7 separate regions of the Homo sapiens genome follow, and regions 1, 2, 4, 5, 6 and 7 are each linked to region 3. The links are contacts of gene promoters, found by promoter capture Hi-C in blood cells and fetal thymus (Javierre and others, 2016). All regions are on one chromosome and are shown on one strand. Each heading gives the region's core, a stretch centred on a gene start or on the middle of the fragment in contact. The rest is flanking DNA. Distances are from core to core; before and after follow the strand shown.

Evidence for each region. Contacts are between HindIII fragments. The CHiCAGO score rates a contact against its expected background, and 5 or more counts as called.
Region 1: a contact is called between a fragment that was not itself captured here and the fragment with the promoter of MAP3K1 in region 3, in 3 of 17 cell types (total CD8 T cells, fetal thymus and naive CD8 T cells). The highest score is 8.3, in total CD8 T cells.
Region 2: a fragment that was not itself captured here is called in contact with the fragment with the promoter of MAP3K1 in region 3 in 1 of 17 cell types (naive CD8 T cells); the score reaches 6.9 in naive CD8 T cells.
Region 4: a fragment that was not itself captured here is called in contact with the fragment with the promoter of MAP3K1 in region 3 in 2 of 17 cell types (total CD8 T cells and naive CD4 T cells); the score reaches 7.8 in total CD8 T cells.
Region 5: a fragment that was not itself captured here is called in contact with the fragment with the promoter of MAP3K1 in region 3 in 7 of 17 cell types (naive CD4 T cells, fetal thymus, monocytes and 4 more); the score reaches 10.9 in naive CD4 T cells.
Region 6: a fragment that was not itself captured here is called in contact with the fragment with the promoter of MAP3K1 in region 3 in 6 of 17 cell types (naive CD4 T cells, total CD4 T cells, total CD8 T cells and 3 more); the score reaches 8.5 in naive CD4 T cells.
Region 7: a fragment that was not itself captured here is called in contact with the fragment with the promoter of MAP3K1 in region 3 in 8 of 17 cell types (total CD8 T cells, naive CD4 T cells, total CD4 T cells and 5 more); the score reaches 9.6 in total CD8 T cells.

The regions. Positions count from the first base shown.
Region 1 is chr5:55,986,186-55,989,195 of GRCh38, forward strand. The region is part of intron 1 of IL6ST (interleukin 6 cytokine family signal transducer); the gene reads right to left. Among named protein-coding and RNA genes, the nearest start is that of IL6ST, 7.3 kb to the right of the region's middle. The HindIII fragment of the contact is 3,824 bases long and covers 1-3,010 here.
Region 2 is chr5:55,915,078-55,918,476 of GRCh38, forward strand. IL31RA (interleukin 31 receptor A) reads left to right here. Exons shown (of 15, transcript NM_139017.7): 15 at 1,567-3,399. The coding sequence ends at 2,043. Among named protein-coding and RNA genes, the nearest start is that of IL31RA, 65 kb to the left of the region's middle. The HindIII fragment of the contact is 5,310 bases long and covers 1-3,399 here.
Region 3 is chr5:56,814,162-56,817,443 of GRCh38, forward strand. MAP3K1 (mitogen-activated protein kinase kinase kinase 1) reads left to right here and starts at 1,388. Exons shown (of 20, transcript NM_005921.2): 1 at 1,388-1,894. The coding sequence starts at 1,413. RefSeq lists enhancers at 616-745, 2,197-3,020 and silencers at 1,106-1,875, 1,946-2,065, 2,246-2,485. The HindIII fragment of the contact is 8,983 bases long and covers 1-3,282 here.
Region 4 is chr5:56,007,362-56,010,369 of GRCh38, forward strand. No RefSeq gene overlaps it. Among named protein-coding and RNA genes, the nearest start is that of IL6ST-DT, 14 kb to the left of the region's middle. The HindIII fragment of the contact is 562 bases long and covers 983-1,544 here.
Region 5 is chr5:55,933,842-55,936,918 of GRCh38, forward strand. IL6ST (interleukin 6 cytokine family signal transducer) reads right to left here. Exons shown (of 17, transcript NM_002184.4): 17 at 1,254-3,077. Among named protein-coding and RNA genes, the nearest start is that of IL6ST, 60 kb to the right of the region's middle. The HindIII fragment of the contact is 1,043 bases long and covers 885-1,927 here.
Region 6 is chr5:55,967,413-55,970,428 of GRCh38, forward strand. IL6ST (interleukin 6 cytokine family signal transducer) reads right to left here. Exons shown (of 17, transcript NM_002184.4): 4 at 2,138-2,443; 5 at 864-984. Among named protein-coding and RNA genes, the nearest start is that of IL6ST, 26 kb to the right of the region's middle. The HindIII fragment of the contact is 984 bases long and covers 1,015-1,998 here.
Region 7 is chr5:55,950,672-55,953,775 of GRCh38, forward strand. IL6ST (interleukin 6 cytokine family signal transducer) reads right to left here. Exons shown (of 17, transcript NM_002184.4): 12 at 1,579-1,680; 13 at 1,258-1,404; 14 at 793-933. Among named protein-coding and RNA genes, the nearest start is that of IL6ST, 43 kb to the right of the region's middle. The HindIII fragment of the contact is 628 bases long and covers 1,208-1,835 here.

The DNA.
Region 1 (3,010 bases), core at 277-2,776, 830 kb before region 3:
TTCTATCATTGTTCAAAAAGGGATATTGAAATCCCTGAATATAACTGTGGATTTACTTCTCCTTGCAGTTTTTACCCTGTTGTGTTTTGAAACTATGTTATTTGGTAGATCCTTTTGATAAATTGACCCTTTTATCATTAGGAAATGCCCTTCTTTACCACTGGTAACATTCTCTGAAATCTACTTTGATATTACTATAGCCAATTCTGTCTTACTTTGATTAGTGTTATCATGACATATCCTCTCCCATTCTTTTTTGTTTAATCTGTATGTTTCTTCATATTTAAGTGGCATCTTTAGGGGGTAGGCAGCATGTGGTTGTATCCAATCTGATAATCTCTGCTTTCCAATTGGGTGTTCAGACCATTTACATTTAATATAATTTGTGATATGATTAGGTTTAAAGCTATCAGCTTCATATTTGTTTTCTTCTTGACTGTTCTTTGTTCCTGTTTACTTTTCTGCATTTATTTTTCTTAATTATTTTTTATTCTCTTTTCCTTGTTAGCTAATAAGCTATAATTCTTTGTTTTCTTATTGGTTGCTTTAGGTTTATAGTGTACATCTTTAACTTTTCACAATCTATCTTCAAGTAATATTATGTCACCTCAGGCATAGTATATAATAGTATACTTCCATTTCTCCCCCCAGACCTTTGTGCTATTTTAGCATATATTTTACTTTTGCATATATTAAAACTTCACATTGGTAGCTCCCACCTGAAATCCCATCACTCTGGGAGGCCAAGGCAGGAGGATCACTTAAGCCCAGAAGTTTAAGATCAGGTTGGGCAATATAGTAAGACTCTCGCCTCTACAAAAAATAAAAAGTTAGACAGCTGTGGTGGTGCATGCCTGTTGTCCCAGCTACTCAGGAGGCTGAGGTGAGAGGACTGCTTGAGCCTTGGAGGTCGAGGCTGCAGTGAGTTGTGGTTGCACTACTGCATTCCAGCCTGGGTGACAGAGTGAGACTGGCACATATTTACTCGTGTGGTTACCATTTCTAGAGCTTTTAATTCCTTTGTATAGATCCGTATTTCCATCTGGTATCATTTTCCTTGGGCCTGAAAAACTGCCTTTAACATTTTTTTGTAGTATGGTTAGAGAAAAGTCTAAATAGATTTGAAAACAAAACCAAAGTGTGAATGCTAACAAGTATTTAGCCTAAAATAAGCACAGTTCAAAATGAGAAAAGATACTGCTAATTACTATATTAACAGACCAAAGGAAAATGACAGGGTCATTCCAACAGATGTTTGAAAAGCATCTGATAACATTCAACAACTGTTCATCTAAAACTTAAAAATAACAACAAAGTGTCAGAAAACTAAGACTGAAAGAGACCATCCTTACCTTGGTGAAGGATAACAAAGATGATACAGGGACTCTAGAACCAGATTGCTTGTGTTCAAATTTCAGTCCCTATATTTTAACATCTTAGGCAAGTTTTTAAATAGCCTTCACTTTTACTTCCTTTATCTGTAAACATGGGGTACCACCACCACCTACCCATCTAGGAATGTTATGATGATTAAATAACTCATTATACATAAAGTGCTTAGAATCATTTGGCTCATTGTAACTACTCAATAAAAGGTTAACAGCTGTTATTATTAGTGCAGCTCTTGCTGTTGCTGCCACAGGTACTACTATAAGAAACCTACAAGGCCAGGCATGGTGGCTTACGCCTGTAATCCCAGCACTTTGGGAGGCCGAGGCAGGTGGATCACAAGGTCAGGAGTTTGAGACCAGCCTGGCCAATATGGTGAAACGCTGTCTCTACTAAAAATATGAAAATTAGCTGGTCGTGGTGGTGGGCACCTATAGTCCCAGCTACTTGGGAGGCTGAGGCAGAAGAATTGCTCGAACCCGGGAGGCAGAGGTTGCAGTGAGCCGAGAATGCACCACTGCACTCCAGCCTGGGCGACAGAGTGAGGCTCTGCCTCCAAAAAAAAAAAAAAAAGGAAGAAAGAAACCTATAATAAGCATCTATAGGTTTAAAGGTAAAAATTAGAAGCGTTCCTATTAATGTCAAGATTCAGACAAGATGCTTGAAGTCATCAGTTATTCACCACTGCTCTAAAGGGCTTAAGCAAAAATATAATAAATAAGATCTAAAAATGGAAAATAAATTGTGAATGATATGATCATCTATCAAGAAAGAGTGAGAATCACATGACAAACTATTAGGACTATTGAGAATTTAACACAGTAGTCAAACAAAACATCATCAAAAAATAATAGGACTATTTAGAGTTTAACATAACAGTCAAACAAAACATCATCAAAAAATAGCTCTCCAGCTGGCGCGGTGGCTCACGCCTATAATCCCAGCACTTTGGGAGGCCGAGATAGGCAGATCACCTGAGGTTGGGAGTTCGAGACCAGCCTGACCAACATAGAGAAACCCTGTCTCTAATAACAATACAAAATTAGCCGGGAGTGGTGGCGCACACCTGTAATCTCAGCTACTTGGGAGGCTGAGGCAGGAGAATCACTTGAACCCAGTAGGCGGAGGTTGCAGTGAGCCGGGATGTCGCCACTGCACTCCAGCCCAGGCAACAAGAGCAAAACTCCATCTCCAAAAAAAAAAAAAAAAGCTCTCCTACATACCAGTAATAACTAATTAGAAAATGTAACAGAAGGCTGGGTGCAGTGGCTCACGGCTGTAATCCCAGCACTTTGGGAGGCCGAGGTAGGTAGATTGCTTGAGCCCAGGAGTTCAAGACCAGCCTAAGCAACATGGCAAAACCCCATCTCTATAAAAAATAAAAAAAAAATAAAAAAAAAAATCAGCCGGGCATGGTGGACCATGCCTGTAATCCCAGCTACTCAGGAAGCTGAGGTGGGACAACCACTTGAGCCTGGGCTTATAGAGGCTGCAGCAAGCTAAGAAGCCAAGATCTTGCCATTGTACTCCAGCCTGGGTAACAGTGCGAGGCTCTGTCTCAAAAAAAAAAAAAGTCTCGCAGAAAAAAAAAAAAAGGGCAGTCTAAAGGTAAAGTAAACAT
Region 2 (3,399 bases), core at 339-2,838, 900 kb before region 3:
CAGATGGACTCAGCCTTCCTGGAATGACTTTGACTTCATGCTTTGACAAGGGGAAAGGGCTTCACCAGGCTCATGAGGACCCAGTGCGTTCCCAGGTGGAACTGGTCCCATAAAGGATGCTGCAGAATAAAGACACTGGCCCTACCCTTCCTGACCTGATGGGCTAATTAGAGAGAGAGGAGCCTTGGCTATAGGATTTGAAGCCATTTACAAAGCAGCCAAGAGCACATTAATCTAAAGACTGTCTAAATATCACCAGGGAATGTTGATGGGCATGGCAGTCTGAGGCTGCCTCAGGTTGTTTTTCTCAGGCTGGGGACGTCAGAGTCAGGCTTTATTTAACTGGCATTGGGGTTTTCTAGTGAGTATTCCTTAACTAGAAACCCTCCATTTGCATAAATTTTTAAGTGGAAAACCGTTAGGGAAATTTTAAGGTTTAATTTCTTGCTTACGTAGAAACAAGCCCAATCAAATATAACCTTTAAATCCTTGTTACTGAAAGGCTGTTTCCAGTTTTTCCTTGATGCACAAATTTTAAATATTAGTCCTCGTTCCCACTCAGAAGTCTTTTTTGAGCATGGGCCTTTTGTTATAATGGGCTTTCTTTCTGTTTCCTCCTCTTATCAGTCCGGTATACTGGACTGATTTATACCCCCATTTACTTTCCTGCTTATTAAATGTCATTTAGAGAGTAAATGGATTCATAGGCAGTGCTCTCTGATAACTAACATGCTTTTTGAATAATCCGTAGGTTGGACCTCTAGAGCCGGCACTTATTAATCACTCACTACATGCCAGGTGCTGGGCTAGGCCCTAGGGATACAAATGACAAAGTCACTGTCCCTGCCATGAGGCCACTTCTGATTTTCTGGTGAGGTTGAACAAGTCTGTCTCTATGATGTGGTTTTTCCATCCCTAAGAGTTCTAATTTTAGTTCTTCCATCTTAACTGGGGTTTTGTGAACATGGGATTGTGTGGAAAATAGCCTTGCACACTCTAGCAGAAGAAATTGTTTGAATTGGCTGGGTACAGCGGCTCATGCCTATAATCCCAGCATTTTGGGAGGCCAAGGCAGGGGGGATTGCTTGAGCTCAGGAGTTTAAGACCAGCCTGGGTAACATGACAAAACCCCATCTCTACAAAAAATTAAAAAGTAGCCAGGTATGGTGGTGTGCATCTGTAGCCCCTGCTACTCAGGAAGCTGAGGGGGAAGAATTACCTGAGGCTGAGAAGTTGAGGCTGCAGTGAGTGGTGATCATGCTACTGTACTCCAGCCTGGGCAACGGGAGTGAGACCCTGTCTCAAAAAAAAAAAAATTATATACATATAAATAAATAAATTTTAAAAATTGTTTGAATCCAGGGCACTGTTTCTCAGGAAATGTGCCACTCCTTCCAAGCTCTGTGGAAGGGCATGCAGAGAGGGTTGGCTACCACTTCTGGGCCTGGGAGGAAGGTGGGGGCTGTTCCAGAGATGGGCATTTGCTGTCCCAAGCCTAACGAGTTTTTGGCTATGTCATATGTGACTCCTAAATGACCACTTGGGATGTCCCTTTTTCTTTTCCAGGATAAGCTAAACCTGAAGGAGTCTGATGACTCTGTGAACACAGAAGACAGGATCTTAAAACCATGTTCCACCCCCAGTGACAAGTTGGTGATTGACAAGTTGGTGGTGAACTTTGGGAATGTTCTGCAAGAAATTTTCACAGATGAAGCCAGAACGGGTCAGGAAAACAATTTAGGAGGGGAAAAGAATGGGTATGTGACCTGCCCCTTCAGGCCTGATTGTCCCCTGGGGAAAAGTTTTGAGGAGCTCCCAGTTTCACCTGAGATTCCGCCCAGAAAATCCCAATACCTACGTTCGAGGATGCCAGAGGGGACCCGCCCAGAAGCCAAAGAGCAGCTTCTCTTTTCTGGTCAAAGTTTAGTACCAGATCATCTGTGTGAGGAAGGAGCCCCAAATCCATATTTGAAAAATTCAGTGACAGCCAGGGAATTTCTTGTGTCTGAAAAACTTCCAGAGCACACCAAGGGAGAAGTCTAAATGCGACCATAGCATGAGACCCTCGGGGCCTCAGTGTGGATGGCCCTTGCCAGAGAAGATGTCAAGACTCGGCACGCAGCGCTTGCTTGGCCCTGCCACATCCTGCCTAGGTTAAAGTTTCCCCTGCCCCTTGAGCTGCCAGTTGAACTTGGTCGGCAAAGATGCGACCTTGTACTGGGAAGAAGGGATGGTGATAAGCCCGAGTTTTGTAAAGGAACAGCAGTCTCTTTTCGTTTGTTCAGATACCAAGCTCTCACCGAGGCCTCCTGACAGATTGACTTTGAAGGAAGGGCCCAGGTTCTGAGCCCAAAGGACCCCCAGGGTGGACATATCTGGCCTCCCAGGAATTGGGTCATGGTCCCAGCCTTTGCTGGGGCTGAGCCTCAGAGTTCCAGAAGGCCTTTCCCTGCTGCCAGAGGACAGTTGTTTTGTTGGCTCTTGGGTGGTCTGGTGGGAGCCTGGGCTCTGGTCTTCCCCTACAAGGTAGCCCTGAAGCCTTCCTCTCTCCCCATAGTTGGGGCTGGAGGTGGAGTGGACCTTCCTAAGGGGTTGTCTGAGGCTCCTCACATCCTCTTAGATCTCAAGTGCCTGTAGCAACACCGCACCTGAGAATCCTCACCCCCAATTTAGACTGCATTGACTACTAAAAAATCAAGGAATGGGGAGGGCCCTGGGGAATGTATGCTGCCGGGCGCAGCTCTGTCCAGTCTCCAGGGGGCCACTTCCCAGCTGCTGCTGCCCTTCTATTCAGCACCCAGCCTGGGAGCAGAAAGGCACCTGACATTGCAGTGGTTGTCATATAGGGACGCTGGCCCCTCACACTGGTTCAGAGCCCAGGAATGCTTACTTAAAAGGCCTCTTCCCGGAAGCAGCAGGGCAGGGCCTGGGAACATGCAATGCCTAGCAAATTTGCAGCCCCAACAGGAGGACTTCTGCTCCTTTTCTCTAGCTGAGCACAGAGCTTGTGACAGTTAGTGGAGCCTTTCACGAAAGTGTGGATTGCTGGCTTCAGCACTGAGATAGTACTGGGCTCCTCCTGTAACTATAGTGACAGAGTCAGCTGTGACTCCCTTGACCTTTGTGGGAGGCCACTAGGAGGCTGGTGAGATCAGGGCAGGCGAGGCAATGAGTGAGTGGCCCAAGGTGCAGTGAACCCAGCACTTGCCAGCCAGGAAGGCTGATGGTATTTTTTCTAGGAGAGTTTGAGGAATCAGTACTAGGATTGCAGGCATGAACTTCGCAAGCCACCCACTCAGGTGTGCAAAACATCACTTTACTTTCCTAAAACTAAAATTAATTGCCAGCCTGAGACCTGACACTTCAAAGTAACCTCAGCCCAGTATGATGATTTCTGAG
Region 3 (3,282 bases), core at 138-2,637:
CTCCGTGAGAATCCGCACCCCCCCACCCCAACCTCCCCCCTCCTTAATCATGTTTCACAAAGTAAATCTATAGACGTTCCTCCTGGGTTTTGGGAGATTCCCCATCCTAAACAAACCAGCTGGAGGAAAGGAAAGGAAGGAAGAAATAAACGCAACACAGAAGTTCTCCTCAGTTGACAAAAGGTCAAAAATCATTAACGTGTAAATGTTGCTTTTTCCATCCCAAAGCACCTTCTCACGTAGAGTCCAGGGACTAGGAGGACTCACAACGCAGCGATGGGCAGCCAGGCCCTGCAGGAGTGGGGACAGAGGGAACCCGGCCGGTGGCCCGACCCTGCAGGGAAGAAGGACGTGCGGCGAGAAGCATCGGATTCGGGGAGGGCCGGGACCTGGCCGAGGGTGACATTACCGAGCACTTCCTGGCACAGCGCTGGTCCCCTCCCCAAACGCGCTATATGTGGTTCTGTACGGGACTGCCTTTCCCAAAGACAGCCAAGGAAAAACTAAAGATCGACGGGGACACCCGCCTCCCTTCCTCGCCCCAACGGTTTCTCAGAGGCTGTGGGGACTTGGTGAGGGTAGGGGGTAGTTGTCCCAAATCAGCAGCTTCAGGATGTAAGGTATTACAGAAAACTTTGAAGTTTTGTTATCTGTAGCACAGGGACAGGGGTGGGACAATAGAGAAGGAATGTTTTCTTTTCAAAAGAAAACACAAACAAAACTTTATTTTTCTGGTCCGCGGCAGCCTGTCTGCTGAACGTTGACTTGCTTTCGCTTTGCAGCAGGCGACGGTCCCGGGCGCCACCTGCGCGTCGGTGGGAGGCTGGTCCACGCCCGGGTCCCCCGACGCCCACTGCAAAGGGCAGTGGGAATGACAGACTGTAAACCCTCTCGCCTGCGTCCCCTTCAAGCACCAGAAACCCAAGTTGGAACTAATTCTTTCTTTCGGAAGGTGCAACTCCCCTCCCGCGAGCTCCGCGGTGCCGGGCCGAGATTGCCGAGAGGAAGCGGCGCAGCGCTGCCGCCAAGGCTCCTCCTGTCGCCGGTGCGGCCGGGACTACCTGGCGGCGCGGCGCGTGCAGCGCGCAGAGTCCCGGGAGCCCACGCCTCCGCCTCCGCCCCCGCCCCCTCCGCCTCCCAGTCCACCTCGCCCGCCCGCCCTCTCGCCCGGCGGAGAGCACAGCCCACTCCCTCCCACCTGCGGCCGCCGGGCCGCCCTCCACCCACACCTCTGCCGCAGGCCGGACCCAGTGCGCCCGCCCGTCGGTCAGTCCAGGCCAGGCGCCCGGCGGGCCGCGCTCACGCAGTTGGCGCAGGAGGCCTTACGCTGGCGGCGCAGTGCCCGCCCCCTGCGCTCTCCCCGCCCCCTCCCTCCCTCGCAGGGGCCGAGCGAATGTAGCCCGCGAGAGAAAATGGCGGCGGCGGCGGGGAATCGCGCCTCGTCGTCGGGATTCCCGGGCGCCAGGGCTACGAGCCCTGAGGCAGGCGGCGGCGGAGGAGCCCTCAAGGCGAGCAGCGCGCCCGCGGCTGCCGCGGGACTGCTGCGGGAGGCGGGCAGCGGGGGCCGCGAGCGGGCGGACTGGCGGCGGCGGCAGCTGCGCAAAGTGCGGAGTGTGGAGCTGGACCAGCTGCCTGAGCAGCCGCTCTTCCTTGCCGCCTCACCGCCGGCCTCCTCGACTTCCCCGTCGCCGGAGCCCGCGGACGCAGCGGGGAGTGGGACCGGCTTCCAGCCTGTGGCGGTGCCGCCGCCCCACGGAGCCGCGAGCCGCGGCGGCGCCCACCTTACCGAGTCGGTGGCGGCGCCGGACAGCGGCGCCTCGAGTCCCGCAGCGGCCGAGCCCGGGGAGAAGCGGGCGCCCGCCGCCGAGCCGTCTCCTGCAGCGGCCCCCGCCGGGTGAGCAGCACGGCCGGGGTCGCGGCGGGGACTTGGAGAGCGGGCAGAGGGCAATGAATGAACCCCGGGCACCATGCACGGCGTCCCGGGGTTCAGCGCAGCGAGGCTACGCGCCGCTCGCCGGGACCTACGCCCCTGAGCACCCCCCGACCCCTTCGGAGTCGGGCGGCGCCCCGGACCCAGCCTGGGGGACCGGACGGGGACGTGCGGAAGAGTTTGTTATTGTTTGCAGACATGTGACAGGCGTGCGAGCCTCTCTGCGGGGAACCGTTGCGAAAAGGTGTAGGGGGCCACGGCTGGCTTTGTGGGACTCCTGGAATCGGGGCTCTCCGAGGAGCCCGGGGGCGGGGCACGGCCCTGCGGCGGCGCCCCCGGACGGGTGTCCCCGGGGCAAAGGCACTGGGGGGCGAGGCCCGAGCCTGAGGCGGGCGGTGGTCGGAAGAGGGGCGGGGTGGGTGAGAAGCCCGAGGTCGGGTGGGAGACTGAGAGGACCGAAGAGAAAGTAGCAGGTCCCAGCGGCCGTGACAGGCAGAGCCCCTCGGCCCGCCCGGGACTCGAGTCCCTAGGCAGATACCGCGGGCTGGGCCCGGACGCAGGCGGCGCGCCCCCAGCGCCGGCCGCAGGGCTCCAGGAGGACGGCTCGGTAACGCCTGTCAAAGCCGTGCGGCGGGAGGCTGCACACTCGCGGAGGCTTGCAGTCTTTTAGGAAGTGCGGTTTGTCTAATTGCAGCCCCCAAGGGGCTTTGAGTGTTCCTGGGAATGCGAACTGCACTGCTAAGTCACTTGAGTGACTTCTGTTTGGAGTTTGAATTTGGCCTTTGAAGTTTGCATTTGGCGGAGTGGTGTAAGAGCCAGGACCGGATGTGTCAGCCATTCAGTTTCAAAGCAGTGGTGACTGCTCCCCGCAGCCCCTCCGGCTTGGCCCGGGGACTGCGGCGCGGGTGCAGTGCTTCCTGCTCGGTGCCCTGGCGCGGGCCGCCCGCTGAATTCCAGGGGCCGCAGTGCGGTGGGCTTCGGCTCAGATGCGTCTTCTGGTGCATATGAAGTACAGTATGTGTAAGGTAATTTAGACCAGCGGTTTATTGGCCTCGCCCATTTTTGGCTACTGGAAATTTTTATGTTAAAGGAAATTCTTTTAAGTGTGACAGCTACATCCTTGTTTGTTTGTTTTTTAAAAACCTGATTAACGTATGCAAAGTACAAAGTCTTGATGGGTATTTTGAGTTGCTGGAAATGTTTTTGTGATAGTCCCTCGTGGCCCTGTAGAATTCCCTGACCTTTATTATGAGAAGAAAGCGTGTCATTTTGTGAGACGAATTTGACAGTAGGAGTCCTTGGTTTGGATTCATTATCTAAAGTGATCTGGCATTTTTTGTGCATTTGATTAT
Region 4 (3,008 bases), core at 14-2,513, 810 kb before region 3:
AATATATACATTATATATTATATACTATATATTATATATCATATATACTATATATAATATATAATATATGATATACTATATAATATATAATATATGATATAATATACTATGATATATAATATATGATATATGATATATCAAATATATAATATACGATATATAATATATAATATATGATATCATATATTATATATTATATATATTATATATTATATATTATATTTTATATATGATATATGATATATCATATATCATATATAATATATATGATATATCATATATCATATATAATATATATATTTTATATATTATATATGATATAATATATATAATATATGATACATGATATATAATATTATATATTATATAATATATTACATATAATATATAATATAATATATATAATATATACTATATAATATAATATAGGATATATAATATATATAATAATTATATTATATAGTATATATTATATATAATATATACTATATAATATAATTATATAATTATATAATTAAATTATATAATTAAATTATGATTTATATAATTATATATTCCTTATATATTATAAATGTATATATTATATATTTATTGTATATAAATATTATATATATAAAGAAACACAGTCTCTCTGTCATGCAGTGGCTCTATCATAGCTCACTGCAGCCTCAAACTCTTAAGCTCAAGTGATCCTCCGGCCTCAGCCTCCTAAGTAGCTGGGACTACAGGTGTGTGCCATTACGCCCAGCTAATTAAAAAAAATTTTTGTAGAGATGAGGTCTCCCTATGTTGCCCAAGCTGGTGTCAAACTCCTGGCCTCAAGCAATCCTCTTGCCTTGGCCTCCTAAATTGCTGGAACTACAAGCATGAGCCACTACACACAGCTATTTTGGTGTATTTCTAATATCTTTTAGATGCATATAATTTTTTATTTGTTTTGTCAATTACCACCATGGCCTAAACAATTTCCTATGTTGTTAAAAGCTTATTTTACTGACTACACTCATGACGTTTTTAATAGTGCATTGAAATTTTCCAATAAATTTCACAGATATATTGGGAGTAGACATAGCAGAGGGTATGGTAGCCTCAGATTAGCCTGGGTGTAATCTTGGAAGGAGGCAACTGCCTTGCTGCTCCCTCTACTTTTGCCTCTCCTGTAGCCAAGCCTCAGGAGAGGCTTTTCTGCATGGTTTCCAGGGTTTGGTTTGTGAGGGAAGAAGATGAGGGTAAAGTCAACTCAAACTTCATCATAGCATTGTGCCCACTTTGCCCTGTCACTGCCATTCTCCAGCAGAAACACTTTGGACACCAACACATGCTCCCTCTTGGAGAAACTTTCTAGTTTGGGTAAAAAGACCAAAAAGTGGGAAAAAATTAATTAGAAATATGGAGATCATGGGTGGAAGGAGCTACCATGGCATGACCCTGAAAGCCCTCAGCATATTCTGGCATGGATCTCTGAGGAAATACAAGATGACCTCTGTGTGAGGTGTTTTTCATGTTGGTTGGAATTTTCACTGGTAAGAACACAAGTACCTTTAAGCTTTGGCCAGAAGGTTTCAGATCTTGAATAAACCCAAACTCATTTGTGCTTTTTCTAAGTAGAATAGTCAGGTTGAACCTGTGGATCAACAGTTGACATTATGCCAACCAAAATATTTCTCTTTTTGGAAGCAACTAATGAGTTTCAATAATTCTTCTTGAGTCTTTCTCACATAAGGAAACAGGGCACATCATTAAAACTGCCCTGGAGGAAATTATATGATAATCTTTGTAAAACTAACATTCCAGAAGGGAGGGGACTTTACCAATGCAGGGGATTATTAATAGCTATTTTGTGCCTTCAGATGGCATGATGCTTTATGTGTTAGTGAATTTCACAGGATCACATATGTGCAAGGGGGCCAGGCTCGGATCAAGGGGGTATGTGGCTGCTGGCTCTGATTTTTGTTCTGCTGGGCCTTGGTGGAAGCAACCAGTTAGGCAAATAGAGCCAGGCACACTATCCTTAATGTATTAGACAATTGGTAATTCTTTGTTGTTTATGATGATAGGTTTGATAGGAATCTCTGGACATGGAGATAGAAAACCAGGTGGCTCTACCATTTATTAGTTCTATAACTATAGACAGATTACTTGTCTCACCTGAACCTCCATTTCCTTATCTGTAAAATGGAAATACAATCTCTTTCAATAAGTTGTTATGAAATCTAAATAAGATAATATATGTAAAAGTGCTAGACATGGAAAAATATTTTATAATTTTTAAGGTATATTATTATTGTTGTTATGATTATCATTACTAGTAAGTTTAATCATGGAAGACTTATGGACTGACTAGTAAACTAGGATAACTTAGTGGGGATCTGTGGTTTGGAGTCTCAAAATAATAATGAAAGCCTAAATGTCAGACCTTTTTTTTTTCCCCTGAGACGGAGTTTCACTCTTGTTGCTCAGGCTGGAGTGCAATGGTGCAATCTTGGCTCACCGCAATCTCTGCCTCCCGGGTTCAAGCAATTCTCCTGCCTCAGCCTCCTGAGTAGCTGGGATTACAGGTGCCTGCCACCACGACTGGCTAATTTTGTATTTTTAGTCGGGACAGGGTTTCTCCATGTTGGTCAGGCTGGTCTTGAACTCCCAACCTCAGGTAATCCGCCTGCCTTGGCCTCCCAAAGTGCTGGGATTACAGGCGTGAGCCACTGCGCCTGGCCCAGACCTTTATTTTACACACACACACACACACACACACACACACACACACACACACACACTGCAGTTTGTTTCACTGAAGACATTGGGACTTGGTTTCAATTAGTTTCTGGTTCAAACAATTAGTTAATGGCAGGATCAAGATGATAAACCACTGTTTTGGCCAGGCACGGTGGCTCATGCCTGTAATCCCAGCACTTTGGGAGGCCGAAGCGGGTGGATTACTTGAGGTCAGCCTGGCCAGCATGGTGAAACCCTATCTTTACTAAAAATACAAAAATTAGCTGGACATGATA
Region 5 (3,077 bases), core at 156-2,655, 880 kb before region 3:
TTGCAGGGGTTGCTCTATAGGGTCAGAGCAAATGTATGTGCTAGTAGGGGTGGGGAGCCAGCCTCGGAGTAAACCTTGAGGGCATAAGGAGAAGTACTGCTCTGGGCTCGAGGCTCAGTTAGGACACTTCAAGGTAGGCAATTGCAGGGGGCTGCTTGAGGGCACAAGGTGCCCCATATTCACAAATAAGGGTGGTGGGGAGGGAGATGAGGGGAAGAGAAACTCAGAAGAGTTTGAAGGGCCTGGGAAGCAGGTGTGCATTCTCCTTAAGCTAGCCTGGGCATGACGTCATCAAGAATTTTGCTTAAGTGGTTGGGTACAATTGGTGTACACATCAAAGAATGCGGACTTTGGATCAGGTTGGAGTTGGAACTCCACTGTTTGTCAACCACATGACCCCGGGCAAGTTATTCAACCTCTTGGAGGCTGCATTTGTAAATGGTGCTGGTATTTACCTCATAAGTTTCTAGGATTTCATAACCCACAGTAAACACTTCATAGATGGCATATATTTGCTCACCTTTGGACACCCTGCTCCGGCATGTGGCCCCCAGCAGGTGATCAGAAAGGTCTGCCGGTTCATTTGAAGAGGAGCGGCCCCTCACCCCCAGCAGCAATGTCTAGTCTCGATTCTGACCGTGGCAGTTAAAAGTTTCTTGGAGGTCCTTTCCTAGGCACTGATGCTGGCTGGGTAGCCCTGGTGTTCGTATGTCTAGATTGAACAACTGGCAAAATCCACACTGACTTTGACCTGAAGAGTGGCTGACTTTTCATTCTCAGAACGCTTATGCAGAATTATGGTTTCTATTGTCAGAATCTCAGTGCCTTTTTATTTAAATATTCCCCTTCATGCCATTCCTTTAAAAGCATTATCCCTCTCATAAAGCTTATAGAGCCTATTTCCAAGAATTTTCTATAAATTCATTTAAAAGCTATCATTAGTCAACAGGCTGCTTCTGACTACAGGCAAGACTGCAGGGAAAACCTTTTCCTACGGGGAAGGGACCCAGATGTATACTTAATAGTTGTGTCTTGGACCTGTTACTAAGTGAAGATTGTTCTAGGAAAGTAGGCCTGGACTGAGGTATTAGATTTCTAATCAACAGGCTGGTCTCATTCAGAGTTTGAACCAGCACTCTGGGGGAGAAACCACTTGTGGCCGTTGAATTACTCTGGCTAGCCTGTCTCAGAAAGACCATCCACAGCCAGGGCTAATGAGACAGTTGAAGAAAGAGAAATACTTTACCTGAGGGTTTTGGTTTTTTTTTGGCTTTTATTTTTGTGTGTGTGGATTACCACCATATAGCTCACCATGTTATCCCAGAAAGACTACAATTTCATACAGAATGCACAGATGTTTAAATAAAAAGCCATTTAAGTGAGGGGATAATTCTCACTAAAAAAAGCTCAAAAATAAGAAATGACAATTCTAGATACACTTTTTTGACATGTAAAATGACATAACCATAGTCACAGGGAATAAAGAATCAGGTTTGAATGTCCACAGGTTTCTAAAACTAAGCTCTGGCTTCGTATCTGTTGAAAATCTTTAGCGGTTGGGGAAAATAGCTATATTTAAAAACAAATATTGAATTTTGAGTTGAAAGGTACATTTTCCTCCCTTGATGGAGACAGAACTTTTCTATGGAGAACCCAAGCAGCCTTTCCATGATCTTACTAAGTTGTCCAAGAGCCAACCCCGATCAGCAGCAACAGGACTCAAGCTGTTCACCCTGCTTTCGAGTTGGCTGAGCTTCCTGCTGCTTTCACACATTCTTCTTTTTCTACCTCAGTTCCTCTTTGCTTGTAGTCTTTCACTCCATTAACTTGCCCAAGCACTGGACTTAAGTATGGAAGAGCCTATACGCAGTTGTAATATATTTCGTATTTTGAAAGTGTAGAAGTTTGTATTAATTTAAAAAGAAAAAGCTTAAATGGAAAGTTAAGCAATCCTGAACAAGAAAACTCTCTCACTGCCTTTGGGCTAGAGAAAGAGTATGCTCTCAAGGAGTTACATAATCTTTTCCAAAGCAGGATGGACTGTATCTATCATACACATTAGGATAAGATGAGCCACCACACCTTAAAGAAATCAGGCTTGAGCCTATACAAGCCATAACCAAATAGAAGATTTTAAACAAAGGAGCACATAGCCCAAAGCTGACATGTTATTTCTATAAACTCTGGTATATATGTGAAGGAGTTACTGTTGGCTGGCTTGTGGGTTTTTTGACTCACTACATTTTTTTAGACAAAATCACAATGTGAAGGCACATTAATAGTTGAGATTTTCTTTTCCTTCCAGGTGGACTTGCTGACTGATTAGTTTCATATACTACTTAGTAACCTCAAGAAGTAGCAGGAGGATGCCATGTATCAATCTTGAACTTCAAGTCTCACTGCAACAAGGATGGAGACTCCAGCAGAGTGCAGGGTGGGCACAGACAGGCCACAAGATGGCGCAGCACCTCCATACTTGGGCTCTTGACAACCAAGTAGGTTTTTTTTTTTTTTTTTTTTTTTAATGTCCACTAGGAGGGAGGATGCTACGATTTCAGACCTCAGCTATTAAATAGTAAATCTGGAAAACTAGTGGATAAATTTGCCATCTCCATTCTATGTTATTAAGACCAAGATAGTGTACTGGTTTTCTTTTAAATCACATTCCATTATGTCATTTAAAATGTCACAAAACCCACACGAAGCATCTCATTTACACTAAGATGCTTATTTAGCTAACACCACTAATGATAAATGCTGTTACAAATATGCATAGTCAGATGATAGTAACCACATACAGAAAAAAAATTTGAACAAGTATTTATTTCTTAAAATTTACTTAAGGGATTAGAGCTAATATATAATAGAACATTTAATATAACATTTGGAGTTATGTCAACATAAAAATAGCTGTGGTTACAATTAGCACATGCAATTCACTGCAAAGGTAAAAATACATGCTATACTCTAGACAAGCCTTCCAAATGAAGTTAGAGTAGATGGGGTAAAACAGCAAGTGAACATGAAAGGATTGCACTTAGAAGAAAGTGGGACATAGCTAGGATATAAAAGAAACA
Region 6 (3,016 bases), core at 257-2,756, 850 kb before region 3:
CAAATAGAACCTATAATTTAAGAGACAAGACATAAATTCACAAAGTATGGAGCTTATTCGAATCTTGACTGAAACAAATGTAAAAAAAATTATACATATAGGCATATTCATGAGACATAGGGGAAATCAACACTAACTGAAAATGTAATATTTTATATCTGAGTGTAACAGTGGTATGTTGTTATGCTTTTTTTTAAAATGTCCTCATCTTTTAGAGACGCATACTGAAATATCTTTGGATGAAATATGATGCCCGCGATTCTCTCTTCAAGACAATATAGGCAAAGAGTACCTTTGAAATAAGACTGGTCATGAGCTGACCAGTGTTGAAGCTGAGTGATGGGTATGTATGGGTATTCTACTATTCTTTCTACTTTTATTTTTTATTTATTTATTTTTTTTGAGATGGAGTCTCACTCTGTTACCCAGGCTGGAGTGTAGTGGTGCAATCCGGGCTCACTGCAACCTCCGCCTCCTGGATTTAAGTGATTCTCCTGCCTCAACCTCCGAGTCACTGGGATTACAGGCACCCGCCACCATGCCTGGCTAATTTTTGTAGTTTTGGTAGAGACAGGGTTTTGCTCTGGTTGGCCAGGCTGGTCTCGAACTCCTGACCTCAAGTTATCTGCCCACCTCAGCCTCCGTAAGTGCTGGAGTTACAGGCATGGGCCGCCGCGCCTGGGGGATTACAGGCATGAGCCACCGCGCCTGGCCTCTACTTTTACATATATTTGAAATGTTACAGAATAAAAAATTAAATGTTTTAAAATAGCATTTAATATTATTACTTGGTAAAATAAAAATTCCAGCAAAAATGACTAACTTTAATAAATCTAACATGAAACAAATTTAAAATAACGTACCATTCAGATTTTAAAGTGAAGTTTGTCTCCAAGTGTGTTTCCCTTCCACCATCCCACTCACACCTCATTTTCTTCCCCTCGTTCACAATGCAACTCAAATTTTTAGGTTTTTCTGGAGGCACTAAAAGGGATTAATTAGCATCTTTCAGAAAGCTTTATATCCACAAATATTATGCAATTTATATACTACCCAAGGCATTTGCGATCTAAATTAGATGAAAAAAATCAAACCCAAGCAAAAAGTATGGACACAATGAAAGGCTGATGACAATTTCTTTTCTATCCCAACTCTTACACTTCTTTTCAGGAAGTAATATATATACATCCATCCTAACTGTCATCAACTGGTTTGTTTCACATTAATTTTCTATGTAAAATCAACTTTCATTTATAACTGGAAAAAAATATCAACTGATTTCTCCATTAAGTATATTTTTAAAAGTAATATATACATATGTTTGTAAGAGGCAACTAAGTAGAAGCCAAAATGATTCATTTATATTTCTCTTCTTATTGCTTTCCCAAACTCGTTGGAAGAAAAGCAAATGCCAAAACAGTAAAGTCTGGGTGATCCACAAATTAGATAACCCACTTTTGGATCATAGTAAGTTTATTTTGTTTACTTTGTTACTCCAAGGCCAGGCACAGTGGCTCACGCCTGTAATCCCAGCAGTTTGGGAGCCCGAGGCAAGTGGATCACCTGAGGTCAGGAGTTTGAGACCAGCCTGGCCAACATGGCGAAACCCCATTTCTACTAAAAATATGAAAAATTAGCCGGGCGTGGTGGCTCATGCCTGTAGTCCCAGCTACTTGGGAGGCTGAGGCAGGAGGATTGCTTGAACCCGGGAGGGCAGTGAGCTGAGATGATGCCACTGCACTCCAGCCTGGGTGACAGAGCGAGACTCTGTCACCAAAAAAAAAAAAAGGATTTACTCCAGTATTTGTTCGCTTTCTTCAGGTAGCTGCTTTACACGTGCATTTTCTCAGCAATTAAGGGATACTGAGAATTACCATCATTATGTCAATTCAACAATACTTTCCTGTGGTGGGGGGGGTCTCATGTCAAATATTTCTCTAGTAAAGTGAAACTGCTTGACTTTCAGGAAAGACAGGAGACTTGTGGTTCCTACTTCTAAGCTTATTTTTTAAAAACCAAACATGTCCAAGTCACTAAGTCCACAAGTTACTACATTTTATAAAGATGAAAGGACAACATTAAAAATGCAGTTCAATAGTCATGACAAAGTCTGAAATAAGACAAAAACAAAACTTACAGCCTGAAATTATTGTGATTCCATAAACATTCTGTTCAAGCTGTCCGAATGTAAGAATGTTGCAAGTGAGCTGAATATTTAATGAAGCTATATCTGTAAAGGTGACACTGGATGCTGTTCTGTTTATGATAGTATATTGCTCCTTAGGAATAGTAAAATGGTTTGTTTTCCAGACAATGTAATTAGCATTTACATGAAAATAATCCATACATTTTTCCTTTAGCACACAAACTGCAGTGAAATTAGAATGAAGTTGTACAACTGGAGATTCAGGACTGATATAACCACATGGATCTAGAAGTTCACCTAAAAAGGAACAATAGAAAATATATAAATGGACTGAATTTTTCTGGTACAAAATGATATCTAGCTGGTAGCACTCAATGTAGAGTCCCTCAACCGTCACTAAAATATCCCTAAAGACACAGAAAAAGACAATACACAACTGAAAATTAATATGGTTAGAATTTAATGCCTGAATTTGTAAAGAAATATACAAATTATAAAGATAATAGAGCTGAATTAAGAAAAACCCATTCATGCTTTATAGCCCATGGTATAAACTATTTCTTTAAGAAACACAGACTGCCTGCAGCATGATTCATACTTGCCCCACAACGTATCCTGTCCCTCCATTTAGATCCCAGGTCTAAACTAAACTCTCCAGAAAACAGGCAGTGGTGGTCTCCTCTACAGTCCTGAATGCTGTTGTGGAGTACAGTTGGGGTCACAGACAGTATACATTGTCCACACATCAAAACTCAGACAACAAAGGAAACAGCAAGGGACCAATACAAAACAGGAAGAATAGAACAAGATGGCCAAATAGTTTAGTTTTAAGAATAAATGCATGGCCCTGGGTATGATGGTTTGCGTCTA
Region 7 (3,104 bases), core at 272-2,771, 860 kb before region 3:
GGAAGGCCAACAGAGTCAAATGCAGAAAAGGCTGGAGGCAGTGGCTTATGTCTATAATCCCAGCACTTTAGGAGGCCAAGGCAGAAGGATCACTTGAGCCCAGGAGTTTGAGACCAGCCATCTCTATAAAAAAAATTAGCTGGATGTGGTGGCACTGGTCCCAGCTACTTGAGAAACTGAGGTAGGAGGATCACTTGAGCCCAGGAGGTCAAGGCTGCAGTGTGCCATGTTCATGCCATTGCACTCCACTGTAGCCTGGGCAACAGAGTAAGACCCTGCCTCCAAAAAAAAAAAGTAGAAAAAAGATGAAAACTAAAAAGCATGCAGTACATATGATGATCAAGAGGTCTTCTGAGTGACACCAGAGAGGTTTCAGTGCAGGGGTGGGGTAGGACCCCTAATTTCAGTATGTTAAATACTGAGTGGGAGGTACGGAAGTGAAGACTGTAAAGTGGACTAGTCCTTCAAGTAATCTCTCAATAAAAGAAAGAAATGAGGATAGAGAAGGAAAGAACACACCCAAACCAGTGAAAAAAATGAACCCACATGGAAAGATACACAAATTCTTTTAGGATTTTTAGTACAGCTGAATATAGTCAGAAGCAGTTAATAAAATACCAAAAAGGTGAGGAATAACACTTTCTATAAAGAAACCACCAACCAAAGCCAGATAATATAAAAATCATCATGAATCCAAAGATGTACTTTTTAACACAATTTTAGCACATAAACTAAGTTCATTTCTAACCTAAGTTTGAGAAAGAAAAAAAACCAAACTTCATTATTTCTTACCAAACTTTGGGGTAGTAAAAGTGAATTCTGGACCATCCTTCCCACCTTCATCTGTGTATGCTGCCATTCGTACCATGTACAATGTGTCACTAGTCAAAGAGGACAATGTATATTCTGTGTGGGAAGAATCCACATTCACAGCTGGAAGAAATAAGAACTGTGCTTCATTCAACTATTCAATGCTTTTGCTTATTTGGCCTATATTTGGCATTGTGAAAGTGTTAAAAAAGAAGCGAAGTATTTTTGTTGGAAAACAACTTTTATAATGTTCTGACATAATTTTATGTTCTAAAGCACAACACAATACTTTTTCAATAAATCCATGAAAGTAACCATAAGGCAAATTCTCAGGTGTCTCCTGAGGCCAATATACTATAAGATGTATAAGAAGAACAGACTTAAATTAGTACTTAAAAGCTTAAGGAAAAAATAACTGATTCTTAATAACTGATACAGTTTTATTACCAGTTTCATTTCCAATGATGGTTCTATAAAATATAGTATAATTTCTGATAAATCCATTCTGAACATCAACAGGAAGTTGGTCCCACTCTAAGACAGCTTCGTTTTTCCCTACTTTTTTTGTCCGAACAGTAGGTCCTTTGGAAGGTGCTGTAACAGAGTGAACACATTTGCTAACTGAAAATCATTTACAATCTAGTAAAATTTCCTTGTCATAAAATCATTTGAACATAATGAGATACATCTTTATTTAAAAGCGATAAAATGTTTCTGTTAATACAAAGCCCTAAACTTTTTTTTTCAAAGAAGTGAGTTTGGACTTACGAGCTTGTTTAAGGTATGCCTTTATGGATTCAGGGCTTCCTGGTCCATCAGCATATACTGGAGTAACTGTTATCAAATAGCATTTGCTCTCTGCTAAGTTCCCTAAAGCAAGAATAGCAGATTAAGCATGTTTTTCCATAATGAAAAAGTCAAGTTAATACCGTAATTTATTTTTACATTATAATTTCATGACCACTTAATTTTCTTTTAAAACTGCAGTTTTCTAAGTAAGCATTGTCTTTTGTGTACTGGATTCAAGCTTAATCAGGTAAAACTGTCTGTAAAAGTATTGCCAATGCAGTGGATAAAAAATACATTGTTAAGAACAATGATGGTATTTACATTTAGAATTTATAAAACAATGATCTCAAATTACTCTGGATTTTATAGAGTCTGACAATTTTTGTATGTCTTACCTACAAGAGAGAACAGCCTAAGGAGCAAGACGACTAAAGCAGTAAGACCTAGGGGAAAGCACTAACGGTCCTAGTTTGCGAGTTGGAAAAAAGGGTATCTTAAAAAATTTCCTCGGCCAGGCGCTGTGGCTCACGTCTGTAATCCCAGCACTTTGGGAGGTTAAGGTGGGAGGATCACTTGAGGTTAGGAGTTTGAGACCAGCATGGCCAACATGGTGAAACCCCCCTTTACTGAAAATACAAAAATTAGCTGGGCATGGTGGTGGGCACCTGTAGTCCCAGATGCTTGGGAGGCTGTGGCAGGAGAATCACTTGAACCCAGGAGGCGGAGCTTGCAGTGAGCCGAGATCGCACCACTGCACTCCAGCCTGGGCGACAGAGTGAGACTCTGTCTCAAAAAAACAAAAACCAAAACAAACTTCCTTTATTTTTATCTTTTTTAGCATGCACCACTAAAATTTTTCTTATTTATACAGTATATTATCTGTACATATTAGAAAATGTTTTATTGAAATTTATACCTTCAATAAGAATGTATATTCCTTAACTATTACTCATGAAGTTACATGCTCCTTTACCTTCTTAAACAGATTTTACCTTTTCTTAATGATTCAATATTACCAAAAAATGAACAATTTTTATATTCTACTCTAATGTGATGCTTTCAGGGTTACTGAGCAACATACGACTACCTACCCAAACTTAATGTCTCCACAACTTATGCTAGCTTCTATTTTTTTTGAGATGGAGTTTCGTTCTTGTTGTTCAGGCTGGAGTGCAATGGCATGATCTTGGCTCACTGCAACCTCCGCCTCCCGGGTTCAAGAGATTCTCCAGCCTCAGCCTCCCAAATGGCTGGGATTACAGGCATGTGCCACCACGCCTAGCTGATTTTGTTTTAGTAGAGACGGAGTTTATCCACATTGGTCAGGCTGGTCTCGAACTCCCGACCTCAGGTGATTTGCCCGCCTCAGCCTCCCAAAGTGCTGGAATTACAGGCGTGAGCCACCGCATCGGCTGCTGCTTTAAAAAGTTTCTATTGGCTCTGAGCAGTGGTTCACGCCTGTAATACCAGCACTTTGGGAGTTTGAGGTAAAAGAATCGCTTGAG